Linked DNA regions of Homo sapiens: regions 2 and 3 are each linked to region 1. The links are contacts of gene promoters, found by promoter capture Hi-C in blood cells and fetal thymus (Javierre and others, 2016). All regions are on one chromosome and are shown on one strand. The core of a region is centred on a gene start or on the middle of the fragment in contact, and the rest is flanking DNA. Distances in the headings are between cores, read along the strand shown.

The links. The method cuts DNA at HindIII sites, captures the fragments that hold promoters and counts their contacts. A CHiCAGO score of 5 or more calls a contact.
Region 2: a fragment that was not itself captured here is called in contact with the fragment with the promoter of FNDC1 in region 1 in 3 of 17 cell types (megakaryocytes, M2 macrophages and M0 macrophages); the score reaches 7.0 in megakaryocytes.
Region 3: a contact is called between a fragment that was not itself captured here and the fragment with the promoter of FNDC1 in region 1, in 1 of 17 cell types (M1 macrophages). The highest score is 6.3, in M1 macrophages.

Annotation. Positions count from the first base shown.
Region 1 is chr6:159,168,035-159,171,749 of GRCh38, reverse strand. FNDC1 (fibronectin type III domain containing 1) reads right to left here and starts at 2,350. Exons shown (of 23, transcript NM_032532.3): 1 at 2,045-2,350. The coding sequence starts at 2,153. It overlaps FNDC1-AS1 (FNDC1 antisense RNA 1), which reads left to right and starts at 1,743. Exons shown (of 4, transcript NR_121668.1): 1 at 1,743-1,938; 2 at 2,989-3,217. RefSeq lists an enhancer at 996-1,495 and a silencer at 2,302-2,471. The HindIII fragment of the contact is 8,244 bases long and covers 1,292-3,715 here.
Region 2 is chr6:159,681,804-159,686,003 of GRCh38, reverse strand. It overlaps SOD2 (superoxide dismutase 2), which reads left to right. Exons shown (of 5, transcript NM_000636.4): 4 at 971-1,150; 5 at 3,366-4,200. The coding sequence ends at 3,511. Among named protein-coding and RNA genes, the nearest start is that of SOD2, 9.3 kb to the left of the region's middle. The HindIII fragment of the contact is 5,065 bases long and covers 1-4,200 here.
Region 3 is chr6:159,935,406-159,939,155 of GRCh38, reverse strand. No RefSeq gene overlaps it. Among named protein-coding and RNA genes, the nearest start is that of IGF2R, 32 kb to the left of the region's middle. The HindIII fragment of the contact is 4,391 bases long and covers 1-3,750 here.

The DNA.
Region 1 (3,715 bases), core at 1,101-3,600:
ACCAGACTGGCAAGGCCATCATAATTTTAATGTTTGCATAGTATCCTATTGTAGGGATGAATATGAGTGGAGGAGGGGACACTGCTTGCTTATTTTGTTTTATGTTTAATTGACCCTACACTGAAGGGCTTATCCAGATCTTCAGTGTGTCCTGCTTTAAGCAAAGTCCCTCGGAGCCACTATTATGTGGCCGTGGGTAATTTCCTTACAGAGATTCTGGCCCCAAAAGGGTGGTGAAGGGGAGAGCTTGACACAAGCAGCTCGCTTGGTCCATGCATTAGTTCAACCAGAGAGAGGGAGCAGTCTATCCATGACGTTGCTGTCAAAGGGAGCCCATGAAAGAAGTTATGTACCCCATAATTTCATCCACAGCATGGGGAGCTATCTACAGGTTGCTATGTCTGTTTCTATCCTTCTATTACTTAATTTAAATTTAGTAGATTTCATTCTGAAATGTGCCTGTCCTCCTTTGTCCACCTCTAGTCTGGTCATCATTTGACTGTAGATCCCACGTCAACACAGTAGAGAGAAGGGCTGGGAAGCTGTCCAGCCCCAGCATTCCTCAGCACAGTGATTCACAGAGCAGAAGGCGAAAAAGCAAGAGTGCAGATCGCGGTGGGATTCCAGGAGCTCTCACAAACAACCCCGCTCGGACCCACTCACATGCAACCCACGGGCAGGTGGCAGAGGAATCGGAAAAGCAGAAGGCTGGAATCGCCACAAAGCCAGGGCAGCACTGGTTCCAGTTTCAGATCATTTTCAGAAACAAAAACTCTTCCAGCACTCTGAAAATTTTCACTTAGAAAAACAAAAGCCAGGAGTTGTAGGTGGGGAAGTTGGAAGACTTTATTTAGTTTTATTCCTCTCAAGTACTGTGCAAAGTATTCAGTGAATACTTTCCTAGAGTTCACTAATGGGAAGAAAAAGACCCTACGGCAGGCACTGCCTTTTATGAGAAAGTGGCATTGGCATCAGAATACCTCGCATAAACCTGAGCCAAGCATTGGGATGATGTATCTACCAAAAAGTCACAAAGTAATGTGATCCCCAACTTTTCTTCCTTTACCCCTGAAGTAAGAGAACAATATATACACTAAATAGCATCATAAAACTGGTACCCTCGTTGGAATAGTATCTGACGATCATTGTCTGCTTCTTGGATTTCTACAAACCAATAACCTAAAAGCCAGTTTCAAGTGTAAAAATGCCTGCAAAGGAGGTGGTAACAAGGGCCGCCAAAGGCTTAGGAATGAAAACCTCGCCACAAACTTGTCTCTCTCTGCAGGAAGCTTGCAAGAAATCTGACAGGAGCGCGCTAGCATTTTCTGAAAAGCATTGCTCTCAAAGGAAGCATCCATCCTGGCTGCAGCCTCAGCCATTGGGGAAGGGCGAGTTTCTCTGGAATCAGCTTTCTCATTTCCCTCTCCCTCCTCTCAAGACAAACATTTTCTCCCAGCTTGAACGTTCCCCCCGGGCGCGCGGGCCTCCTGCCGCCTGGAGCCGAGCTGGCACTGGAGCGCTTCTCCTCTGGAGCGCAGAGGCACCCGACGCCCTGCGGCAGCTCGCAGCCTTTCCCCCACGACCTTCTAGAACAGCCCTGCTCTGCCTCCCTCCGGTCTCCCGAGTGCGCCCGTCATCCTGCCTCGCGAGAGGTGAACGCGGAGAAAGTAGGATGACCACCTACGCTCCCGAGAAATTCTGGGCAAAGAAAGGCATTACCCCAGTCCGCACGCTGAAAGTCGCCTTTCTTTTCCTTTTTTCCCCGCTGTGCCTGAATCTCCCGGGACACTTAGACGGCTGGAGCCTCCCGACTCCAAGGCGGGCGACGGCAAAGTTAAACGCCAGCGCGCTGCGGTCCCCGGGCACCGAGGCGTCCCCGCTCCCGCCACCCACACAGGGCGCCAAGTGCCCCGACCCGCGAGTGACGAGGACGCACAGGCTAGTGACACGACCCGTAGCCAGCACTGAGCGGGACGACGGGGCCCGAGCGCAGGAGGGTGCGCGGGGAGCTGAGGAGCGCCGGGGGCCCGGGCGCGGCGCGTACCTGAGGCCGCCGCCGAGGAGGCGACGGGGAGCAGCGCGGCCAAGAGCAGCAGCGCCGCCCAGGACAGCCGGCGCGGCGCGCGCAGGGTCGCCCCGGCCTCGGGGGCCATCGAGAGCCCGGGGTGGGCCGGGGCTGGGTGCTTGCGGCTGGCAGGGGGGCGCTGGCCGGAGTCTGGGGAGTGCCGAGGCGCCGCCGTCGGGTCCCCGCCGCCGTCCGTCTGTTCTGCGCGCTCTGCGCGGTGCCCGCCGCGCCCCTGCCCCGCGGCGATCGCTCCCGGCCGCACACCGGCAGCCGCGCTCCGCCACTGAGGCCGCCGACCTCCCGCCGAGCCTTTTAGCTGCGCTCGGGCGCCCCCTGCCGGTGTGCGGGGCCGGGGCCAGGGCCGGCGGGGGCGACCCGGGCGACAGGGGCGACGGGGGCGGCGGGGCCCGGGCTGGAGGCGGGCGGGGCGCGGGACGAAGGGGCCGGAGCGCCCCGGACTGACTTAGCGGTTCTGAACTTGGGGCGGTCGCTGTGCCGGGCCAAGTGGCTGAGGAAGTTCCTCCCCTCGTCTAACCCTCTCATTTTCTGGCTGGGGAAGTCGCCCATCGCGCCGAGGAGTGCCCTTTGTCCCCTTACAGAAACACCTCTGCGCCCCAAGTGGGGACTCGGGCCGGGACCCCTCACCCGGTCCGCAGCGCTGTAGTTCCTGTGGCTAGCCCAGTCCTTCCACGTCCCTACCCGCACCCGGCGCGCCCACGTCAGGGGTTTTCAGCGTCCTTAGACCCTGCTCCGTCTGGCTGTCATTTCTAGGGCGCGCACGATGCGGGTCGAAAAGGAACCCAGTTTTCAGTGTGCCTTGTTGCCCAGGCCAAGGACTCAGCGGACCTCGCCTCTCCCTTTTCTGTAATTGTAACACTGCCCCAGGTCTCCCTATTCCTCCTTCTCCCTATTCCTCCTTCCAGCCTGGAAGCCTCGCGGCCCTCCAGATGGACTCGGAGCGCCCCTGGAGGCTACAGTGACCTAAGCTCTAGGAAGGCCGGGTCCTGGACGCCGCGTGCTGCTGTCCGCCGCCGACCGGTGTCCTCGCAGAGATAACCTGGCTGAACTCACCGCCCAGCGCTATGTCAGTTCTCCCTCATGACAACCCAAAACTTGACCGGATTTGTGTTCTGCAGAGAGGAAAAAAAAAAGGTAAATGAATTGCAAAGAGATGAAAACCAGAAATACAGTATCTCTTTGAATTTGAGCACCCAGGAAAGGTGTAAACCTACCGCCTTCCTTTCCAGGAAACTCTCCTGCTTCCCAGCAAAGGTTTTTGTTTGTTTGTTTTTCTTTTTCTTTTTGTTTTGAGACAGGGTCTCCCTCTGCCTCTGCCGCCCAGGCTGGAGTGCAGTGGTGCAGTCTTGGCTCACTGCAACCACCATATCCCAGGCTCAAGCCATTCTCCTGCCTCAGCCTCCTAAGTGGCTGGGACTACAGGTTTCAGCCACCATGCCCAGCTCATTTTTGTATGTTTTGTAGAGACAGGGTTTCCCCACGTTGCCCAGGCTGGTCTCCAACTCCTGAGCTCAAGCAATCCGCCCACCTTGGCCTCCCAAAGTGCTGGGATTACAGGCGTGAGCCACCACGCCCAGCCCAAACACACTTTCCTGCATTACTCCCTTATGTTATCATGTTTCCCCACATGCC
Region 2 (4,200 bases), core at 586-3,085, 510 kb before region 1:
TGACTTTATTCCCAAATGGAGGCGTAGAAGAAGGAGGGTAGAAGTCAAAGGAAAATTTTCTATTCAGGGAAAAGAAAAAGCTAACAGAAAGTAGTATTTCTTTCCTAACAAAGATAGTACAGTGAGTGGGGAAATCCCTCTAACACGATTCATTAAAAAATGTGAACTACGCAGCTGGAGGCCATTATCCTAAGCGAATTAACCCAGGAACAGAAAACCAAATACCACATGTCTCACTTGCAAGTGGAAGCTAAACATGGAGTACTTATGGATATAAAAATGGCAGCAACAGACACTGAGGACAGAGCAGGGAGGGAGAAAGAAGGGGACGGGGGGTGAAAACTGTTGTATACTAAGCTCGCTACCTGGGTGATGGCATCAATTGCACCCCAGACCTCAGCATCATATGATACCCGTGTAACAAACCTGTGCGTGTACCCTCTGAATTTAAAATAAAATTTGAACCGGGCACGGTGGCTCACGCCTGTATTCCCAGCACTTTGGGAGGCCAAGGCGGGTGGATCACCTGAGGTTGGGAGTTTGAGACCAGCCTGACCAACATGGAGAAACCCTGTCTCTACTAAAAACACAAAATTAGCCGGGCGTGATGGCACGTGCCTGTAATCGCAGCTGCTCGGGAGGCTAAGGCAGGAGAATTGCTTGAACCTGGGAGGCAGAGGTTGCAGTGACCCGAGATCATGGCATTGCACTCCAGCCTGGGCAACAAGAGTGAAACTCCGTCTCAAAAGGTAAAAAATGAAAAAAAAAAAAAAAAAAAAAAAAAGTTGAAGTTATAAAAAACAAAAACGTGAATTAAAATTGTGAAACTTAGATCCAGGTGTCGCATTCTGATGTTGTCTAATTTCTTGGGCCCTATGACAAAAATATTTTAATACATGTAATATAACATTTTACTGTAATTATTGAAATCTGTTCATTTGTGGGTGGTTTTGGATTTTTTTTTTAATAGGGGAGTTGCTGGAAGCCATCAAACGTGACTTTGGTTCCTTTGACAAGTTTAAGGAGAAGCTGACGGCTGCATCTGTTGGTGTCCAAGGCTCAGGTTGGGGTTGGCTTGGTTTCAATAAGGAACGGGGACACTTACAAATTGCTGCTTGTCCAAATCAGGATCCACTGCAAGGAACAACAGGTTAGATTTAAAAATTGTGATTTCATTTGGGAGAGATGCTCTACTGTAAAGCATTCAACTAGAAATAAGGAAAACTAACAGTGTTTTAAGAACATGTAATAATTTGCAAATCTTAACAGATAACACCCAGAGTCTTGTGTAAGTAAAAATGTTTTAGAAGTCCTGATATTTCATAAAATTAAGTACACGTAATTTTATAGGTACATTAACAAACATGTTTTATTTTTATTTATTTTTTTTGAGACAGATCTCACTGTTGCCCAGGCTGGAGTGCAGTGGTGCGATCTCGGTTCACTGCAACCTCCGCCTCCTGGGTTCAAGTGATTCTCCTGCCTCAGCCTCCCAAATAGCTGGGATTACAGGCACATACCACCATGCCCAGCTAATTTTTGTGTTTTTAGTACAGACAGGGTTTCACCATGTTGGCCAGGCTGGTCTTGAACTCCTGACCTCAGGTATCTGCCTGCCTCGGCCTCCTGAAGTGCTGGGATTACAGGCATGAGCCACCATGCCCAGCCAAATGTTTTACTTATTAACCCTGCTTCATTCTACAGAGAATTAATATCAGCTTAGATAATTATATGTACTAAAATAAAAAAAAAATTAGCTATAGAACAAGAGTGAGGAAAAGAAATACAAGCAGAGACTGATTTCAGAGCTTGTACTGTTACCTCCTCTGCTGAGCATTTGAGGTTAAACTGGGACTAGATCTCAGGTTTCCAGACCTTCTGCCTTTCTGGGGCTCTTTGGTAGAGTATATGAAAATATTCGGCTTGGAAGTGCCAGGCTGGGCTCACCAAATACTTTGCTGTTGAGCCTAATTGGATTTAAAAAATGTCACTGAAGAGTATGGGAAATAGAGCCATGAGTTGTCTGGCAGAGGGTTGGGACTTTGAACTTAAAGTGATACCTTCACATCAACAACAGTCATTCTCTGCCCCTTCTTCTACCCCTGACATTGGAATACTCTTGATCTGTGGCTCACTTCACAGGATAGACCCAGATTTTGGCAGAATCTGAACAGCTCTTTTGGGACAGTGACATGGCATAACAATTTGTAAAAGCCACAAAAAATTTGTAAGCACCGATCTGTAGAGTCAGGTTATTTGTAGAGCTGCATGACCAGAAAGGCTGATATTTGTAAGTGAGTCCCAGCTACACTCCTTCCTCTCCCTGTGGAAAGCACATTAGAAGGAAAATGAGGGAATGTCATGGCCTTTTGTTTATAAAAATCATTAATAAATTTTGCTACTTGAAATTATTAATAATAAATTACTAGTGACCTCCCTCACAACTGATCAAGACATACTGGTTAAGAATTGTTTTTGTAGAGAGAGCTATAATTTATTTTGAGTGTTTTTGTGTGTGCGTGATGGAGTCTCACTCTGTTGCCCAGGCTGGAGTGCAGTGGCGCAATCTTGGCTCACTACAACTTCCGCCTCCCAGGTTCAAGCAATTCTCCTGCGTCAGCTTCCTGAGTAGCTGGGATTACAGGCGCCTGCCACCTCGCCAGGCTAATTTTTTGTATTTTTAGTAGAGGCGGGGTTTCACCATGTTGGCCAGGCTGGTCTCGAACGCCTGACCTCAAGAGATCTGCCTGCCTCGGCCTCCCAAAGTGCTGGGATTACAGGCCTGAGCCACTGCGCCCAGACCAAAAGTTTTTTTAAATGGATGTTTTACAGATAGAACTAAATTCTTCATTTACCTCACTTAATTTCTGAAAACACTGTGTCCTCCAACTGCTCTGTATTCCCAAAGATTAAAATTAGCCTTGGGGAGCAGAGCTGGTTCCTCGTAAACCCCTGTGAGTGCCCAGACCCTTTGGAGGAGGTTCTCAGTGGGCTTTTGCCTGCTCCCACAGATGTAACCCACCCTTCCTGCTGCTCCTAAGACCACCATGAGGAAGGCTGGGAATTGGCTCTTGAATTAATTTGTTGGTATTTTTAAGAATAGCTATTAAAGTACTGTTGTTAATTTTCCCAAGTCTATTTTATTGTTAGTATTTGTCACATTTTCTTTGTAAACAGTGAATTAAAAATATTTTATAGGAATATTCATTCTTATCTAGATTTCCTACTTATATAAAAAAACAAGTGAATGAGATTGTTACAAAGGGTAATTTTGTGTGAGTAGAATAATAAAAGTTGAAATTGAGAAGATGCAATGTTTTAGACTGAAACTGATGGTTGGTTTGTTTTCCCCTTCTTTCTAACAGGCCTTATTCCACTGCTGGGGATTGATGTGTGGGAGCACGCTTACTACCTTCAGTATAAAAATGTCAGGCCTGATTATCTAAAAGCTATTTGGAATGTAATCAACTGGGAGAATGTAACTGAAAGATACATGGCTTGCAAAAAGTAAACCACGATCGTTATGCTGAGTATGTTAAGCTCTTTATGACTGTTTTTGTAGTGGTATAGAGTACTGCAGAATACAGTAAGCTGCTCTATTGTAGCATTTCTTGATGTTGCTTAGTCACTTATTTCATAAACAACTTAATGTTCTGAATAATTTCTTACTAAACATTTTGTTATTGGGCAAGTGATTGAAAATAGTAAATGCTTTGTGTGATTGAATCTGATTGGACATTTTCTTCAGAGAGCTAAATTACAATTGTCATTTATAAAACCATCAAAAATATTCCATCCATATACTTTGGGGACTTGTAGGGATGCCTTTCTAGTCCTATTCTATTGCAGTTATAGAAAATCTAGTCTTTTGCCCCAGTTACTTAAAAATAAAATATTAACACTTTCCCAAGGGAAACACTCGGCTTTCTATAGAAAATTGCACTTTTTGTCGAGTAATCCTCTGCAGTGATACTTCTGGTAGATGTCACCCAGTGGTTTTTGTTAGGTCAAATGTTCCTGTATAGTTTTTGCAAATAGAGCTGTATACTGTTTAAATGTAGCAGGTGAACTGAACTGGGGTTTGCTCACCTGCACAGTAAAGGCAAACTTCAACAGCAAAACTGCAAAAAGGTGGTTTTTGCAGTAGGAGAAAGGAGGATGTTTATTTGCAGGGCGCCAAGCAAGGAGAATTGGGCAGCT
Region 3 (3,750 bases), core at 569-3,068, 770 kb before region 1:
GGGTATACCAGTGTATCCATTCACCTATCGTTGGACATTTATCAGTTTTTGGGGGGTAAGTATCTAGGAGTGGAATGGATGGAATGCATGGAATACATGGTGGGTCTACTACTTGCAAAGATGGTTGTACCATTTTATATTCCCATCAGTAGTGTCTGAGACTTCCAGTTTTTCTACATCTTTGCCAACACTTGGTATCATCAGACTTTTAAATTTCAGCCATCTTAATGGGTATGTAGTGGTATCTCACTGTGGTTTTACTGATAATGTCTAATGATGTAGAACAGCTTTTCATGTGCTTATTTGCCACCCATATATCTTCTTTGTGAAGCGTCTGTTCAAAGTTTTTACCCATTTTTAAATGGGCTTGTTTGTTTCTTCATTGTTGAGTTCTGAGAGTTCTTTATATATTTTAGATAAAGTCCTTTTCACATACATGCTTGGCGAATATTTTCTGCCCATTTATTGCTTATCTTTTCGTTGTCTTAACAGAGCCTTTTCAATGGCCAAGTTTTTAATTTTCATAAAGTACAGTTCATCACTTTGTTACTTTACGGATGGTGCTTTTGACACCGTATGTAAGAAATCTTTCTTTGCCTAACCCAAGGTAACAAAGGTTTTCTCCTATAATTTGTAGAAATGCTATAGTTTTGGATTTTACATTTAAGTCTATAATCTCATTTGTTAGCTTTTGGTTTTTGTTTTTTTAGGGTCTCACTCCCATTGCTCAGGCTGGAGTGCAGTGACATGATCTCAGCTCACTGCAGCCTCAACTTCCTGAGCTCAGGTGATTCTCTCACCTCAGCCTCTCGAGTAGCTGGGACTACAGGTGCACGTCACCCCACCTGGCTAATTTTGTGTATTTCTTTTAGTAGAGATGGGGTCTCCCCTTATTGCCTAGGCTGGTCTCAAACTCCTGGGCCCAAGTGATCCACCTGCTTCGACCTCTCAAAGTGCTGGGATTATAGGTATGAACCACCGCACCCAACATTTGTTAGTTTTTGAACACACTTTAAATTATGGATTCAAGGAGCTAAGTTTCTTCTTCTTCTCCTTTTTTTTTTTTTTTTTTTGCACCTGTTCCAGCATCTTTTGTCAAAAATCAGTTGTCCATATATGTGTGAGTATATTTCTGGACTCTCTACTCTGTTCCATTAATCTATTTGTCTATCTTTATGCCAATGGCATGCTGTTTTGACTGCAGTAGAGGAATTTGAGCATGAGAAGTTTAAAAATGGCTCTGAGGTCCATCTTATCCTGGAGATTTGGAATTCCTTTTTCCTTCCAAGTCAAGGGGGAAAGCCTACAACCTCTTCTTAAAGGTGAGCATGACCTGTCTTTTGCTCAAAGGGTCTTAGCACTGCTGCCAACAAGTTGCAACAGAGAATTTTCTGGGCCTTTGTGGATGATGGGAAGCTCTGCAGAAAATTCATCCATCATTGGCTCCCCAAACCAGCCTCAGAGCCAAGCTGACAGCAAACCAAAGGCCTCATGTAGCCACTCCCACTGGCAAGGAGGAGTGCCCTCTCCTGTAGGAACAAGGACTACGGGGTGTCCCTCGTTCTGGACACTTGCTAGCAGTTTCTGTAAAGATTTCCAGACACGGGGGCTGAAATTAGACATTAAAATCACATTTGGGAATATTAAAGAATTTATTGTACCTCCTTCCCGTCCCTCATTTCCCTCTTCCAACATCACTCTCGATCTTCAGAAATTGTGAGACAGTTACATGCTAAGAAGGAAGTAGGAAAAGAGGCTGTCTCTAGCTCTGTCTCCCTAGGAGCATGGTATTGATGACCTGCATGAGCCTGGCACTGGGCAATGGGCAGGGCTGGACAGAAAGTTAGGGGAGCAGGGAACGTGGAACCTTCTGTATGATCTGTGTGATTTGCCTGTAAATCTAAAACTATTCTAAAATAAAAAGTTGTTTTTTGTTAAAGGTCCAAGTAACTGTTTAGAAGAAAAGTTAGGGAAAGGAAAGGTTTATTAAAACTAATGAAAAACAGCCTAGCCATTATAAAAAGTAACGGCTCTCTTTTTTTATTATCTTCCCAACTGAAAAATGACCATAAATCTTCAGTCTTCCACAGACTCCTATTTGTTGGGTGTGCATTTCTTCAAGCTGTGAAACAGCCATAGATGGCTCCATGCAGCAGGAGCAAACGTGTTTTTGTTTCTCCCCCAACCCTTCCTGGTTCAAACACCCTTCCCTTTGTTCCTCCTTCTCCTCAACCCTGGTCAAGTCATTTTCTTTCTGGTTTAATCAGAGATAAGAAAAGCAGATCTTGAAAGTCTTTTCACAGGAGAATCTAAAAATCTCAGTGCTGATGGAAGGTATGGAAGCATGGGAAGTTAAAGAAGAGGACTTCCGGCTCTCATCATCTATCACCGCTGCTCTGGCATAACACAAATGGAGGATATGAAAACATCCATTCTGTGACCTGGGGATCAGCCCCCTGCTGAGAAAGGTCTTCTACTGAGGAGTGTCCCACTAATGGGATAATCTCACAGACGGGTAAACACAAAGACACAGGGCTCTGTCACACACTAGCACCAACCAGGTTGCTGTGTTTCCTGGGTCACAGATTTGCCCAGGAGAAACTCCATCCACTAAACCCAAGTGTTAAAATGAAAGCAAATACATTGGCGCCTGAACACAACAATGCATGCTACAGAGTGGAATTCCATAAATGGCCTTTTACTACAATAAAATCACAAGGAACTCAAGATAAAACCATTGAACAGTATGTACAATAAGGGCAGTGTCAGTCCAAGACTTGGAGACACTTACCAAATGGAATGGAGAAGGCATTAAATATTCATTGACATGTCAAGTCAGTCTTTCCACATAGAAGGTTCAATGGAGAATGTAGTGGAAAGACCCAAAGTGACCCCCAAAGACACCCACCTTCTGGGATCATGCCTCTGGGTACTCTCCTCCCCTTGAGTGTGGGCAGGACCTGGGACTTACTTGTAACTAACAGGATATGGCAGAGATAATGGGATGTCCCTTTATGATTAAGTTACCATATATATAAGTCTCCCTCTTAGGAGCAGACATACTGTACTCTCCCTTACTGGCCTTGAAAAATCTGACATGAAGTAAGTGGCCATGGTGAAGAAGCCCATATGGCAAGGAACTGCAGGCAAACTGCCATTGCTGAGAGCAGCTTCAGCAAGAATGCAAAGCCTCAACCCTGCAAGAAGAAGGAAATGAATTCTGCCAACAAGCTGAGGGAGCTTGGGAGTGGATCCTTCCCTGGTTGAGTCTCTGATGACACTGCAGCTGAGTCAACACATTGACTTCAGCCTAGTGAGATGCTGAAGCTCAGAACCCAGATGAGCCATGCCCAGGCTTCTGACCTGCAGAAACACTGAGATAATAAGTGTGTGTTGTTCTGGCTGCTAAGTTCATAGTAATTTGTTACGCAGCAGTCGCTGACTAATACAGGAGATAAGAAATAGTTTGACTTGCTAGCCATTTTTACTTTCATAAAAATGTTGTTTCTAGTTATCCTTTCATGCTATGAGAAGCATCCTTTCCAACTCCCACTGTCACAGAGGGGATCCCACATCTCAAGCTCATGGTGGTCCCCCAGCTGAACTAAATGACTGACTGTAGAAGAGGGGTGGTTCCCCAAAGGAAATACAGGGTCTCATTACCAAAAGAAAAAGGAGATAGAAAGTGAACATCAAAAAAATAGTAATTGCCCACCTGAGAGCCCTCCCCATTTAATTTGACAGGGGAAG